Linked DNA regions of Homo sapiens: region 2 is linked to region 1. The links are contacts of gene promoters, found by promoter capture Hi-C in human tissues and cell types (Jung and others, 2019). All regions are on one chromosome and are shown on one strand. Each heading gives the region's core, a stretch centred on a gene start or on the middle of the fragment in contact. The rest is flanking DNA. Distances are from core to core; before and after follow the strand shown.

What was found. Contacts are between HindIII fragments. The study calls those that stand out against the background at their distance.
Region 2: a fragment that was not itself captured here is called in contact with the fragment with the promoter of HPCA in region 1 in 6 of the 25 tissues and cell types used here (bladder, mesenchymal stem cells, ovary and 3 more).

What each region holds. Positions count from the first base shown.
Region 1 is chr1:32,885,112-32,887,811 of GRCh38, reverse strand. HPCA (hippocalcin) reads right to left here and starts at 1,321. Exons shown (of 4, transcript NM_002143.3): 1 at 1,297-1,321. RefSeq lists a cis regulatory region at 642, an enhancer at 558-727 and silencers at 983-1,032, 1,113-1,202. The HindIII fragment of the contact is 37,453 bases long and covers 1-2,700 here.
Region 2 is chr1:32,852,033-32,854,732 of GRCh38, reverse strand. It overlaps S100PBP (S100P binding protein), which reads right to left. Exons shown (of 7, transcript NM_022753.4): 6 at 1,567-1,654. Among named protein-coding and RNA genes, the nearest start is that of FNDC5, 18 kb to the left of the region's middle. RefSeq lists an enhancer at 547-716. The HindIII fragment of the contact is 6,967 bases long and covers 1-2,700 here.

The DNA of each region.
Region 1 (2,700 bases), core at 72-2,571:
ACCAGCCCACGACCCCACATGTCTCACACATGCCATCACACGCCAACTCGCATGCCGACACCTCTCACATGGCCAGCTGCACGTGGGACCTTCAGGCACCCTTGCCATTTTTCTTTGTTTTCCTTCTGTTTTCCCAGGGGTGCTGCCAGGTCCCAGGAGAGGGAGCTGCAAACCTTCCCAGACCTGCTCGGGGCCCCTTTTCCAAGGAGACCCCCCACCAAGCCCATCCAAGCCTCCCCAACACTTACCCTTCATCTAGTCCTGAAAGGTCCCCTGAGTGCAGGTTAGATTGTGGAGGCTGAGTAGAAGGCAATGAAGAGGAAACAGCCAGCCAGTTCTGCACAAGGATGTAGGCGTGTGTGCAGGTGACCCCCACCCACTTAGGGCAAGGAGGGGCCTCCTTGTGCATACATGTGCATGAAGCTCTGCACACATGTGAATGGGTGTGTTGTGAGTGCATGTGCTCATGCATGATGTGTGCCGCTGGTTTTTGCATTGCATTTGCCTGCCGTGTCTTTCCATCTATGTCCCTGCATGTGCCTCAGATGTGCATGTGATCAGGTATGCACCCGTCACAGCGTGAGGGAATGAGCCCGTGTGGCCATTTGGAGGACCCGTGTGTGTCCTCGGCGGTGTGTCACATGCATGTTTCTGTAAGTTGGTGCCCCTCCTTTCTAGACCAGCCTCTTATGGCCCAGGCTAAGGACCCACCGGACAAGTGAGTGGGAAAGGGCTAAGGAAATGAGAAGGGCTGGGGCATGTCCCGCACTGCCCTCCTCAAGGTCCAAGGAACTGGGTCACCGGGGTGGGGGCAGAGAGATGCGCGGAGCAAGAGAGCTCCTCCAGTGCCCCCTGGGCCCTGCCACCCTCGGAGTTGCCCCTCCCGGTTGCAAGAAGATTCAGCTGCCCGCAAAGACCTCCAGTCCCCCATATGGGAAGAACCCCCTCAGCTCGACCTGAGAAGCCAGCCCCGGGGACCCGCTCCAAACCTCCCTCAGCTCTGTCCCCCAGCCCCCGCCTCCATCCGCTCAGCACTAGGACAGCGCCCGGCGCGTGGCCCCTCCTGGAGGGGGCGCTCCAGGGCGGTCGAACGCGGTTCCTAGGGGCCGGCCACTCGGCGGTCAGGACCCTGGAGAGCACCGCGCGCTTCCCAGTCCCCAGCGCCCCCGCCACCCGGGGCAAGGATTCCCGGGAAGCCCGGGAGCGGCGGTGTTGGGAAGCCCTGGACGTGGGCCCCCAGCTCCGGGAACCCCCTGCCCTCATCCCCCGGCCCCGGCTGGAGCTGCCCCCACTCACCCAGCGACGCGGAGACACCGACTGCGCAGGGAAGGCGGCGCTGCTGCGGCGCGCGCGGCAGGGGCGGCAGGAGGGGCGGGCGGGACTGCGAGGGAGACGCCCCGCAGCGCTCACCCGGAGCCCCTCCCCTGGGGGGGTCCCCGCCAGCCCTGGGGGCTGGGGAGCGGCGCGCTGGGCTCCGCCCCCCACCCCCGCCCCGGAGAGAAGGGGACGCCCTCAGTTCCCCGGTCCCCCTCGAGGGAGCACCCTGCCCGGGGAGGAGGATCGCGGCGCCCCTCTCCTCGGCACCTCGGCTCTGGTGGCCGGAATGGAGGGACACGGTAGTGCCAAGAGGTCTCTCTCCTGAGCCGGGGGCGATCCCAGGCCACTCCGCCCCGCTTCCTTCCCCATACCCACCTGGGCTCTGAGCCGCACGTCGCTTCGAGGGCCGAATTGGCACCCTGGGCACCCTCCCTGCTCCTGCGCCTCAACTCCCAACTAACGGAGCTGGGAGCGTGGAGCGCCCATTCCTCCAGCTACTGAGGTCTTCGGGGTAGGGGACCAGACACGCCCCCTTCCCCACCTCCACCTTGGCGAGCCGGCCCCCATGTCAAACCCACCACTCCAGACCTCACCCCGACCCCCCTCTCAGAATTAATCCCACCTCCCAACTTTGGTGTCAGCTGCTCCTCCCACTCCCCCTTCCAATCAAGGAAACCCCCTCCCTTCCTCCCTCCCCAGCCTCTGATTGTGCAGGCCATGACAGGAGGGCAGAACATCTGCCTGGGGATCCTGTGGCACCTACCCACTGCCTGCCGACCGCACAGCTCCTCTCCAGAGTCGATGACCCCTAGCCCAGCTCCTCCTGCCCCCAGCCTCAGCAACATTCTCCGCATGCTGGGCTGAGATTTTGTCCTTTTTCCATTTCTAGGGGTTGGTCCTTATTGTCCCCATGAAGAAATGGGCTCAAAGGGGTTAAGTGATTTTTCCAGTGTGTGCGCCCTCATCCATTCATTCCACAAATACATATAAAACACTAGTTCTGCGGCCAGCATTGTTCTGTCTAGATAGTGGGACTACAGGCGCAGACAATAAACAATGGACACAATATACATGTCGATATTAGACATGTGTTTTTAAACGTTGGGATTTGGGTGTGGCAGTTAGAATGGTAACTGCCATTGGGGCCATCCAGGGCCTTGGGGCCTATGACAATGACTTTAGGCTTTTTATTCCAGATGAGATGGGAAGTCCTGGGGGGCTTTGAGCAGAGTGAGAGGGTGTGACCTCCATGTGGACAGCTTCCTTGGGTTATTATGTCAAGAAGAGACTTTGAGGAGTTGGGGGCAAGGTGGGAGAAGGGGCCATTTCAGGCTGAGAGATGGCCGGGGTGGGTCTGGTTTCTGGATTTACTTCGCAGGTAAA
Region 2 (2,700 bases), core at 147-2,646, 33 kb after region 1:
TAGGGGATTACGAGAATGGGAAGATGTGAGATGGGAAGCCACTGGGAAATATTGAGCAAATGTGATTTATGCTTTAAAAGAATCTCTTTCTTTGGCTGCTGAGTTGTGAACAGTGCACTGGCAAGGGCAGAAGCAGGGAGGCCATTTAGGAGACTTGCAACAATCCAGGTCAAATGATGAGAAATAGTTAGGCTTTGGATATACAGCTGACCCTCCATATCCATGGGTTCTACATCCATGGATTTAACCAACCATGGGTCAAAAATATTCAAAGAAGAAAAATGAATGGTTCCATCTGTATCGAACATGTATAGACATTTTTCCTTGTCATTATTTCCTAAACAATACAGTATAACAACTATTTGCATAGCATTTATACTGTATTAGTTATCATAAGTAATCTAGAGATGATTTAAAGTATATGGAAGGATGTGCACAGGTTATGCAAACACTATGGCATTTTATATAAGGAACGTGAGCATCTGTGGATTTTGGTATCCAGAGAGGGTCCTGGAACTAATCCCTCATGAATACCAAGGACAACTGTATATGCAGAACCTATGGGATTTGCTGATAGACTGAATATGGGGTGAGAGAGAAAAAAGTAAAAGATGATTCCAAGGTTTTTGAGTATCTGAATCAAAGTAACTGAATAAATTTGTACAGCCACACTGCATCAAGAATCCAGAAAACTGTAATACTAAATTTGAGTCTTAAAAAAAAAAAATTCCAGAAGATTTCAGAATTAGGAAGGTCCTTTGACACCAAGTTGCAAAGCTAGTATTAGAACTCAGGTTTCCTGAATTTCAGTCCAGTTTTTGTTTTGTCTGTTTGTTTTTTGAGACAGGGTCTCGCCCTGTTGCCCAGGCTGGAGTGCAGTGGCACAATCATTGCTCATCACAGCCTCAAGCTCCTGGGCTTCAAGCAATCCTTTTCTCTCAGGCACTCTCAGGGACTACAGACACACACCACCATGCCCAGTTAAGTTTTTGTATTTTTTGTAGCGACGGGGTCTCACATTGGCCAGGCTGGTCTCGAACTCCTGGGCTCAAGCAATCCTCCTGCCTTGGCCTCCCAAAGTGCTGGAATTACAGGCGTGAGCTACTGTGCTCAGCCTCAGTCCAGTTCTTATTCCATTATACTGCATCACTTTTTCCCCCTGCCTCTTGAATTAAACAATTCCAACCCCTACTCCCCACTACATTCCTCCTGCAGCCAAATTTCACGCGCCCCCCCCCCACCGCCTTTTCTTTTTTTTTTTTTAGACGGAGTCTTGCTCTGCCGCCCAGGCTTGAGTACAGTGGCACCATCTTGGCTCACTGCAACCTTCGCCACCAGATTCAAGCAACTGTCCTGCCTCAGCCTCCTGAGGCTGGGACTACAGATGCTTGCCACCACACCCAGCTAATTTTTGTATTTTTGGTAGATATGGGGTTTCACCATGTTAGCCAGGATGGTCTCAAACGACCCACCCACCTTGGCCACCCAAAGTGCTGGGATTACAGGTGTGAGCCACCGCGCCCAGCCATTCTACCCTTTTCCATCTTCTTCTAATCACCCACTCACCGCGTGGTGAGGTCCGAAGGATGCTGCCATTTTGAGTGCTGCATATGATGAACTTGATCCATCAAGGCACAAAGCTCCCCCGAGATACCTGTGATACAGAGGGATCAGTGGTTAGGAACAGCTGAGTGAACTACGTCAGCCAACGTCAAAGTATGTGTTTTCAGGGAAAGAGAAAACAGGCACTGTTCTCAACAATATATACTTACAATTATCACAAGCAGTGAGCACAGAAACTATAAACCAGAATGGGGAGATTACTCTTGGAGGGTGAAGGTGAAGCAATAATAGCAGCCACCATTCATTCATTCAACACTTAGCTCCTACAATATACAGGGAACTTTACTTGTCCCTAGGAATATGGCAGTGAACAAGACACTACCTCAATGAAGTTTATACAGGAGACAGATGATTCCAAAGTGGTGTGATAAATGCAGTGATAGAAATACAGACTGCTATAGAGACTGGGGGGGTGGGGGTTAGGGAAAGCCCCCTCCAGGGGGAGTAACTATAGCAGGGATCTAAAGGATGTATAAAATTAGTGAGGTAAAGAGGGGTAGGAGGTTGGATGCCAAAAGATAACAGTTAATACAAAGCCCCAGAGACAAAAGACAGCAAATACATTCAAGAAACAAGAGGAGTTTAGAACAGATGGAGGTGGGCGCTCTTTGCTAACAAGAAAAATTGCTAGATGCAATTTCTCAAACACCTGGGATCCTAGCAATGTACTAGACACTTTACATATTATCTTACTTAATTCTAAAAAAAATCTTACATGGAGATAGATGTTATTAATATCATTTCAAAGATGGGAAACTATGGGAGGTGAACTTGCCTGAAATACTTTTTTTTTTTTTGAGACAGAGTCTTGCTCTGTCGTCCAGGCTAGAGTGCAATGGCATGATTTCGGTTCACTGCAACCTCTGCCTCTTGGGTTCAAGTGATTCCCCTGCCTCAGCCTCCTGGGTAGCTGGGACTACAGGCGCCTATCACCATGCCAGGCTAATTTTTATATTTTTAGTAGAGATGGGGTTTCATCATGTTGGCGAGGCTGGACTCCAATTCCTGACCTCAAATGATCCTCCCAAAGTGCTAGGATTACAGGTGTGAGCCACCATGCATGGCCCTGAAATTCTT